Regions from separate parts of the Homo sapiens genome. Here region 2 is linked to region 1. Evidence: promoter capture Hi-C in 16 types of primary human blood cells and fetal thymus (Javierre and others, 2016). All regions are on one chromosome and are shown on one strand. Each heading gives the region's core, a stretch centred on a gene start or on the middle of the fragment in contact. The rest is flanking DNA. Distances are from core to core; before and after follow the strand shown.

The links. The method cuts DNA at HindIII sites, captures the fragments that hold promoters and counts their contacts. A CHiCAGO score of 5 or more calls a contact.
Region 2: the fragment with the promoter of MCEE here is called in contact with the fragment with the promoter of SNRPG in region 1 in 1 of 17 cell types (total B cells); the score reaches 5.6 in total B cells.

Annotation. Positions count from the first base shown.
Region 1 is chr2:70,291,625-70,296,511 of GRCh38, forward strand. SNRPG (small nuclear ribonucleoprotein polypeptide G) reads right to left here and starts at 2,116. Exons shown (of 4, transcript NM_003096.4): 1 at 1,994-2,116. The coding sequence starts at 2,025. It overlaps LOC124906023 (a long non-coding RNA gene), which reads left to right and starts at 2,278. Exons shown (of 2, transcript XR_007086880.1): 1 at 2,278-2,308; 2 at 3,434-4,390. It overlaps FAM136A (family with sequence similarity 136 member A), which reads right to left. Exons shown (of 3, transcript NM_001329752.2): 3 at 4,352-4,887. RefSeq lists enhancers at 874-1,781, 1,798-2,277. The HindIII fragment of the contact is 8,673 bases long and covers 1,465-4,887 here.
Region 2 is chr2:71,126,753-71,132,007 of GRCh38, forward strand. MCEE (methylmalonyl-CoA epimerase) reads right to left here and starts at 3,477. Exons shown (of 3, transcript NM_032601.4): 1 at 3,428-3,477. The coding sequence starts at 3,467. It overlaps MPHOSPH10 (M-phase phosphoprotein 10), which reads left to right and starts at 3,882. Exons shown (of 11, transcript NM_005791.3): 1 at 3,882-4,002. The coding sequence starts at 3,914. RefSeq lists enhancers at 2,700-3,558, 3,880-3,929, 4,030-4,079. The HindIII fragment of the contact is 1,939 bases long and covers 2,307-4,245 here.

The sequences.
Region 1 (4,887 bases), core at 866-3,365:
AAAAGAAGATGCTATCTGTGAGAAAGCAGAGGAAGAAAAAATTTTTAAGTCATTTTGGCGGCAGATCTGACCGGATTTCACAATTCATGAAACCTACGAGGAAGAGAAAGGTATTAAAACTAGCTTCCTTCTCTGAAATTTTCAAAAACTATGTTATGAATCAGAAAGAAAATCTTAGATTACAAGTAGAGAATGGTCTTTTTGTTAAAAAAAAAAAAATCACCATTTCACCAGTCCCTGATGAATCCAGAGGATACTTACATCACCAAAAATAACTTTCAGATAAAAAGAGTAATTTTCACAATAATTTCTGAGTAACTTCTATTTTTTTTTTTTTTTTTGAGACGGAGTCTCGCTCTGTTGCCCAGGCTGGAGTGCAGTGGCGCGATCTCGGCTCACTGCAAGCTCCGCCTCCCGGGTTCACGCCATTCTCCTGCCTCAGCCTCCCGAGTAGCTGGGACTACAAGCGCCCGCCACCAAGCCCACGTAATTTTTTGTATTTTTATAGACACGGGGTTTCACCGTTTTAGCCATGATGATCTCCATCTCCTGACCTCGTGATCCGCCCGCCTCGGCCTCCCAAAGTGCTGGGATTACAGGCGTGAGCCACCGCGTTGGGCTTATGTTTTAATAATTAATTCCTTAACAGACCTAACTAAAATATACATAGAAGTAGTTTTCATACAAAAGATGGCTTTGATACAAATGGACCTTTAAATGCAAAAATATTATTATTTTTTGAAACAGAGTTTCGGTCTTGTTACCCAGGCTGGAGGGCAATGGCGCGATCTTGACTCACTGCAACCTCCGCTTCCCGGGTTCAAGCGATTCTCCTGCCTCAACCTCCGGAATAGCTGAGACTACAGGCGCACACCACCTGCCTGGCTAATTTTTTGTATTTTTAGTAGAGACGGGGGTTTCACCATGTTGGCCAGGCTGGTCTCGAACTCCTGACCTCAGGTGATCCTCCCGCCTCAGCCTCCCAAAGTGCTGGGATTACAGGCGTGAGCCACTGTGCCCGGCCGCAAAATTATTAAATAGGAACTTTACCTTTTGTCTGACTTCCATGGGCCTGGTAATAAATGAACTAACTATACACAAAGCCAACCACATGCTACGCCAGAAAAAACTGATCCCTGTAAAAATTTTGCATCCTTTGTGCAATCCAACTAATACATGTAGAATTCCAGCATCAGGAAGTATAAGCAAAACAGAAACGTAGTCAGGAAACACATAACCTGTTAAGTCCACTCAAAAAGTATTTGAGGAATTCAAAGCTTTACGTTGAGTCCTACCTAAAGTAAGGCTCTCCTACTTAAAGTTGTTTGACTTTACTGGGTGTGTAGAAAAAACTTCAAAAAATTAGCCTTCTCTGACTAGAAAAAATTAATGTTCTTAAAAAAAAAGAAAAATGAATGTTCTTATATAGTTTCAACATCAGAGCAAGATAACACATGACATTCAAGCTTAACGTAAAAGAAGGCAAGAAAAAGGAATGAGGTTTCTAAGTAAAAGCTCAAACACCTACAAACACATTTGCTAAGACTAAAGTGGCTTTCGGATTCTGATGCCTCACGTAGTTTTAAAAACACTTCCTTCCCTTCCAGCCCCTCCTTAGTTCCTTCAGAGAATTTCCCCCTCTAGCCGTCTATCTAGAACATGATACTATTCGAGATGTTCAACAAAAGGTAGCACTGGAGATCTTCAAGGAACGAGGGACAGCGCCGGGTGACCAGGGGCCAGACCGCGGGACCTGGAGACTAGTCGGCCGGAAGGAGGTGCCGTGGCTGCCGGCTGTAACCACACCGACGCGCGAGCTCTGCGCGGGCTTCACGTCTCATGCGCGGGAGCCTGGCCGGGATCCCGGCGACCTCGGACCGGAAGAAGAAATGAAGTGAAGCGGCTCAAGACATTCGGCTAACGGAGAGGGAACCAAGGGACTCGCAGGACGCAAATAACTGACCACTTCGGTTTGGCTCTCACACATACTTACTTTTTCAACTCGGGAGGGTGAGCTTTGCTCATGGTGTATACTCCGCGGGCTCACAGATGCCTTGGAACGCAACGCACGGCTTTCCTCACGCTCCCGCTGTAGGCCCGGCGTCTTGCGTCTGGCGTCATCGACCTCGTTAGCCAATGGATTGTTGGCAGTTTTTACATTTCACCTCGCGATATCTCAGCGCCTCGGTCATCGTTGAGCTTCCGGTTATGTCCTCAGCGATTGGCCAGGACGGAGGGGTGCGTCCTCTAGGCACCTTTCTGAATTCCGTTTTCCTTGTACAAAATTGAGATAACGGGTATTCCACCGGTGGGTATCCCTGCTCTTTTTCTTTTCTTTTTGAGACGGAGTCTAGCTCTGTCGCCCAGGCTGGAGTGCAGTGGCGCGATCTCGGCTCACTGCAAGCTCCGCCTCCCGGCCTCACGCCATTCTCCTGCCTCAGCCACCCGAATAGCTGGGACTACAGGCGCCCGCCACCATGCCCGGCTAATTTTGTGTATTTTTTAGTAGAGACGGGGTTTCGCCGTGTTAGCCAGGATGGTCTCGATCTCCTGACCTCGTTATCCGCCCGCCTCGGCCTCCCAAAGTGCTAGGATTACAGGCGTGAGCTACCGCGCCCAGCCGGTTATCCCTGCTCTTGTCTATGGAACAGCCAAAATAAATAAAAATAAATAAATAAATAAAAAAAGCCGGGCGCCGTAAATCCCAGAACTTTGGATCTCTTGAGCCCAGGAGTTCGAGACCAGCCTGTGCAACATAGCGAGACCCCTTCTCTATTTAAAAAATAAAATTGAGATATTGAGATAACGGTCCCGTCTCTAGCTCCTGGGCAAACCCGGCCAATCCCGCATGTCTGTGGATCGTATCGCTTATTTTCTTCATATATACCAATATACCAAATGATAATGATCCCTGGAGGAATGGGCCTCTCTCTATATATGTATATTTTTTTGAGACGGAGTCTTGCTCTGTCGCCCAGGCTGGAGTGCAGTGGCGCGATCTCGGCTCACTGCAAGCTCTGCCTCCCGGGTTCACGCCATTCTCCTGCCTCAGCCTCCCGAGTAGCTGGGACAACAGGTGCCCGCCACCACGCCGGGCTGATTTTTTGTATTTTTAGTAGACACCGTATTTCACTGTGTTAGCCAGGATGGTCTTGATCTCCTGACCTCGTGATCCGCTGGCCTCGGCCTCCCAAAGTGCTGGGATTACAGGCGTGAGCCCCCGCTCCCGGCTGGGCCTCTATATTTTTTTGGCAGGTAACCCTACAGCATACTGTCAGACCAAGTAGGGTTCCCGTAACATGTAAATTAGCAGCCTCTGAACCATTGTAGAGTAAGGTGACTGGGTCTGTCTCCAAGAATTTGAATCTATTTCTGACTGAGGGGTCTTGCAAAAAAAATTTTTTTTGAGATGAGTTCTTGCTCTGTCGCCTAGGCTGGGGAGCATGGTGTGATCATGGCTCACTGCAACCTCGAACTCCTGGCCTCAAGCAATCCTTCCACCTCAGCCTCCTGAGTTGTTGAGACTACAGGCGCACGCCACTGCACCCAGCTAATTTTTTTTTGTAGAGACGAGGTCTTGCTTTGTTGCCCAGGCTGTTCTCAAATTCCTGGCCTCAAGAGATCTGCCTGCCTCCGGCTCCCAAAGTGCTGAGATTACAGGGGTTAGCCAGCATGCCTGGGAATTCTGAAATTTTTCAAACACTACCTCCAGAACTCACTGATGTGCTATTGCCCCTGTATATAAAATGTGAAGTGCAGCACACAAACATTTTCTAATATAAGGTGTTCTTTTTTCATGTCAAGATGTGTAAAAAGTGGTCTCGGACTTGTTCCCAGTTGTTACCCCAAAATTATAGAAGACTAAACCAAAATAGAATACCTTGTGTTTAAATAGGGGATAGTTCTCAAAAATTCAGTTAATTCCTGATATTCTGGAATGGCTCTATATAAATATCAATGATAGTAAAGACTTAAACTCATCACATATTTTGCACTCTCTTAGTACTCAAAATCCTAGACACTGAATTTTTTCTAGCAGGGTCATAGCTTTGTACCTTTACTACCACTTGCTATTAGTGTTTAGTTGAAGCTAGAGACCTGACATAGATAATGAATTTCTCTTTTTAGCCTCATAGACAGTTTCTTTTCTACATTAATGAACTTCAAGTCACAATGTCCTAGTCTCCTCTCAAAGTTTTTCCCATTTACAGTGAACCAGTTCTGCATCTGAACCATAACAACTAATTTCCACTCTTCTGGACATTTTAACTCATTTAACCTGTTAAAAGGAGAAGCATCCTGAGAAAGTTACATATTCACCACCCAGATATAAGGAAAGAAGACTCAATAGTGGGGAGAAAATTAAACCTTATTTATTTTTAAAGTCAAACCACTAGGAAAATATATCACAGCCTGGAAACAGCAAACGGACAGGCTATATTATAATTTCAAGTAATAAGTTGGTGAAAATTCAACGAAGTTGCTATCAAAACAATAAGGTGCCATGCTGGGGCAGGAACACTGCCAGCTGCACAAGCCCCAGGCAAAAATGGTATTTGGTAATGGGGGCTGTCTCTCCTTTGCTCTAAGGGAGTCAGCTCATCCTAGCCCAAGTTGCTTACTTTTTCTCCCTTGAATTTCCTGTTGCCAGGGGTTTGTCTCAATTGGGCTCTGTTAATTCAGGGGGCTAAGTAGGCAATGCTAGGTGTAGGCTTTCATTCCATATGTTCTAATAAAACCAGGTTTTCCCAAATCCAGTACTTCATTTACTCTGTTGTAATCAAGTAGCCAACTGCTCCTCTTTTACTGTTCATTCCTAGATACTAGTATATATCACAATCAAAACCCCCTTCTCTTCAAGGGGAAAGTGTTACTGCAAGATTGTCC
Region 2 (5,255 bases), core at 2,227-4,726, 840 kb after region 1:
CTTTGACTTGTAGAAACTTTTTTCCAGCTTGAGGTATGATGACTAATAGAAACGGTGTATCTTTAAGGTATACAATGTGATGTTTTAATAAATGCATAAATTATGAAAATGATTACCAACACTGAAGCTACCTTTTTAAAGCTATTTTTATTTCAGGTTGCCCTCCAACTAGCAGGAATTCACAGCTCTTTAGTTTTAGATTTCTCTGCCTCCCATTTCAGAATAGTGCAGCAGAATTGCATTATTTTGAATTCTGCAATGTTTAATTTGTGATTATTCCAATAAAGGTTGCTTTGCATGAATATACTACAGTGTAAAACCATGTGCAAATAAATGCATAAGATATTTAAAAACAGAAGTGTTAATAAAAAACGCATGTAAAGATGAATACAGATTAAAGAAACTATTTTCACATGTCAGGAAGCTGGTATACAAGTAAAAGATCAAAATCGGATGTGTATGTTAACTCTCATTCCAATCTTCCTTTCAATATCAATTCTCGTTAATCACTTTTAGTGTCCTGACTTAAAAACAACATTGCATTTCTTTCAGTTCAGATTTTGCATTTATTTCAGATCACACTTTTTAGACACTGTCCCTGAATACATAAAGGTTTAGCTGCAAGGATCTATACTCAAATGCATTAAGAGTACTTACTATTTAAAGACATTAGATGTTAAATTTGTATAAAAAGTACTATAAAAGTGAATAATCACTTGTAATAGGTTTTTTAACAGCTTTATCTCTTAATAGTTTTTAAACAGACTTAAAATTTATATACCATAAAGTTCACCCATTTGAAGTGTACAATTCATTTCTTTGCATCTTTGCAAAGTTGTGCGACCTTCACATAATCTAATTTTAGAACACGTAATAAGTTTGTTTGTTTTTTTGAAACGAGTCTGGCTCTGTAGCCCAGGCTGGAGTGCAATGGCGCAATCTTGGCTCAGTGCAACCTCTGCTTCCCAGGTTCAAGCAATTCTCCTGCCTCAGCCTCCGGAGTAGCCGGGATTACAGGAGCGCGCCACCACGCCCGGTTAATTTTTGTATTTTTAGTAGAGATGGGTTTTGCCATGTTGGCCAGGCTGGTCTTGAACTCCTGACCTCAGGTGATCCACCTTCCTCAGCCTCCCAAAGTGCTGGGATTACAGGCGTGAGTCACCGCGCCTGGCCGAACATAAGTCTGAATTTTCACTGAATATCTGGTTTGAGGAAACATACGTATTTAGAAAGTCATTCATTAGAAGTGCTTTCAAGTTAGTCTGGTAAGTTTTCTCTTAAACATTTGACCAGTTAATTTCACAGCACCATATATATATCTTCAACTTGTTTCAAACTATGATCAATTTTTTTTATTCATTACAGTAAGTAAACAGATTACATTTCTGTTAGCCCATTTACAGACGATTAATGAAAGTAAACCTATGCAGTCATGTAAGTTGGTCATTCTTGTCTCCCACCTAACAGGTTCAATTTCCATTTTCAGAACTTTTCTACGTGTTCACTCTGATTTTTCTGTGCTTTTGTTTTTCGGCGAAGTTTTATGTTCCTTAAAAGAGGGGCCATAACATAGAATTACCATGTAATCCAGCAATTCCACTTATGAGTATACACACCCCCAAAGAAGCGGGAATTCAGAAGTATTTGTACACCCACGTTCATAGCTGTATTACAATAGCCAAAAGGTGGGGATAACCCAAATGTCTATCAAGAGACGAATGGATAAACAAAATGTGGTATACACACACAATGGAATATTATTCAGTCTTAAAAAGCAATTTTTTTTTTTTTTCTGAGACGGAGTTTCGCTTTGGTTGCCCAGGCTGGAGTGCAGTGGCGCGATCTTGGCTCACGCCAACCTCCGCCTCCCGGGTTCAAGCGATTATCCTGCCTCAGCCTCCCGAGTACCCGGGATAACAGGCGTGTGCTACCACGCCCGGCTAATTTTTGTATTTTTAGTAGAGACGGGCTCACGCCTGTAATCCCAGCACTTTGGGAAGACGAGGTGGGCAGATCACCTGAGGCCAGGAGTTCCAAACCAGCCTGGCCAACATGGTGAAATCTCGTCTCCACTAAAAATGCAAAAAATTAGCCGGGCGTGGTGCCGGGTGCCTGTAATCCCAGCTACTCGGGAGGCTGAGGCGGAAGAATGGCTTGAACCTGGGAGGCAGAGGTTGCAGTGAGCTAACGCCACTGCACTCCAGCCTGGGCGACAGAGTGAGACTCTGTCTCAAAAAAAAAAAAAAAGGTAAATTTTACTTTATGTATATTCAACCACACACACACACACACAAGTGGAGACATTAAGCTTCAAGTATCTTAATAGGACAAATCAAAGGCAATCTTTGGAATACACTGTCTTCATTTTTCCTTTATGCCAAGATGTGTATGTAAGTACAAAACAAACATGCACCTTTATCTGTATTGAGTTCTTGCAGTATGTATATGACCTGTTGGAAGTCATACTTTTTCCCAAACTGTCAATCATTAAAGTGTGCAGTTCTAAAAATAGACATAAAAATGCCTTTTCCCAAATATTCATTTATTTATAGTTTTACGTTCCTATCTTGTGTATCACCTAAGAGGAAGGTATGCCTTACGGTTAAGAATGTGGGCTCTGGTGCTAGAAGGATTTATCACGAATGTCCCGGAGTAACTCTGGGGCATTACCACTTGGCACCTTCTTCCTAATAGGGAATCTCAGATTAAGGGAAATACTTGCCCTCTCATAAAAGGAGGAAGAGAAAAAAAAAAAGGATAAAAAGAGGAGAAAGTGAGTCAGAAAACGTGACAATTATTACAGTTATTTCTGTCATAACTGATTCTATGTACATATTTTAAAAAAAATGAAGGGGGAGAGAACTCAAGAAAGTTTCCAAATCCACATGCTTTTATCTGTGTACGCGATAAATATATTAGTGCACGTGGAAAAACCACTCCTTTTGTATTCTTTACACCACTGACCTTTGAGTGTTCCCAACAGAAAGCTGGTCACGCTTGGAGTTCGGCCGACTAGTAGTTGTTGTTTTTACGGAACGTGCTCTCCTTTCTGGTTTCTCCCCAGTCTCTTTATTGGTGCGCGGTAAAATAACTTACCGATCCGCTTCTATTTACTTCTGTCCCTGCCCTGCCTGACCTGCCGGGCAAGTTCCCTCGACTCTCCCGCCCACATACTGGAAGGTGCAGAGCCCAAGGCGCACAGCTCTCGGATGGAAATGGGACTCATGCACAAGGCAATCCCCGCTACTAAGCGGTGGCGCTTCTGGAAGGCACCCTCTGCCTAAGTGACAGCAGCTGCTGTGGAACGCGCCCCCGGGGGAGGACATTAGATCAAGGTGCTTTGGCCACGCCGAGGCCTCCTCCGCCCCCGACCGCCGTTCCCACGCTCCCTGTCCCATGGCGAAGGTCGCCGGTGCCCGGTATTCACCTACGGCATTCGCGGCTGCAGCCTTCAGCACCCGCGCCATTTTGGAAAGCAACCCGCCACGTCAAGACTAGCCACGGAGGTTGAGAGACGCGCGGCAGAGGGCGGGGCGGGAGGCAGAGGGGGCGGGGACAGAAAGGTCAGGGGCGTGGCGAAGGTCGCTGCTTTCCTGCTACAACGGGCCTACTTTAGCTAAAACAGAAACGTAAGGCCAGGACGGGTCACCCTTTGTGGGCCCCTGAAAAATACAAAACGAAGTTTGGAGAGAGTTGAAAGGCGTTTGGGCTGACCATGGAGATTTTTGTTTCCCACCCTCCTGCGAAAGCGCTCGCGCTGCCATTGGCTCTGGCTGAGGGCGAGTCCGGAACCTGTGCGCCGCGGAACTTTCGGCTCTGAAATCCAAGTTGCGCTGGGCGCATCTTTGCCGCGCGGTTTCCGGGCGGCTCCCTTCCCTTGCATGCTGCATTGTGTCGGGAGTTGCTGACAGCCATGGCGCCGCAGGTCTGGCGTCGACGGACCCTGGAGCGGTGTCTGACGGAAGTCGGCAAAGCCACGGGTCGGCCCGAGTGCTTCCTCACGTAAGTGCGCAGATCCCGGGCTCGGGGTGCGACCGGGGTCTCACGTGGACGCGGGTTGCAGGCCTCCGGCAAATTGTGGAGCTGGGGGAAGGTAAGGGGAAACGTAAAATCGCTTTTCCCCAAATTTCAGAGTTTATGCTTTCCTAGGCTATCAAAATTTTAAAAACTGTTAAAATTTGTATAGATGGATCTCTCAGTTGAGTGTTACTGAAATCACTCTAACCTCAATTGTTAACACCTAGAAGCTTCCCTTGGGCTTCTTACGCCCCCATCCCTCTACACACAGACTGTTGGTTTCTCCTTCCTCCTATGTGCTCTCAAAGCACTTAGCGCTTAGCATACTTTATTGAAAGTACGAACTTGTCACTTGTCTGTCCACCCCCCATGACTAAGCTTCTTCAGAAATAGAACTTCCATGTCTCTTCCCAACACAAGCGTTTTATATGTATTTTGTTGAAGAATTTAAAATGTGATCTATGAAATTATTACTCATTTATGTTTCAAACCCCAACCTTTCCCTGAGTTCCCAGCTCACAGCAACTACAGACTGAGCTTAGTTTGAATTCCGTAGCACACAACTGGGATATCCACACTGTACAACTTTTAACGATTTTTAAAATTTTGGTACTGTCAAGCATCTCAAATTCACTGCGTCCAAAATAGAGCTGTTGTGTCTGTTTAATAGAATTGTTGTTTCTACCCACCTATACTCTGCCATCCCCTGAAGTCCTTTTCCCATGCTACACCTGTCAAGCGCGTCTGTGTGAAGAGACCACTAAAACAGGCTTTGTGTGAGCCACAAGGCTGTTTATTCACTTGGGTGCAAGTGGGCTGAGTCCGAAAAGAGAGTCAACTAATGGTGATGGGGAAGGGGTTGCTTTATAGGAGTTGGGTAGGTAATGGAAAATTACAGTAAAAGGTGGTTATCTATTAGCAGAGGAGGACGGGGTCACAAGGTACATGGTGGGGAGATCATAAGACTTATTGTCCAGAAGAAGAATGTCACAAGGTCGATTGATCAGTTAAGGTAGGGCAGGGACAAGTCACAATGGAGGAATGTTGTAATGTTGATTAATCAATTAAGGCAGGAACTGGCTGTTTTATTTCTTTTGTGGTTTTTCGGCTGCCCCAGACTTCTTGGCTCCTGCAGGCCATCTGGACATATATGTGCAGGTCACAGGGGTTACAATGGCTGAGCTTCAGCTCAGAGGCCTGACACCACCACCCAAGCCTTCCCTATCTCAGTAAATGGC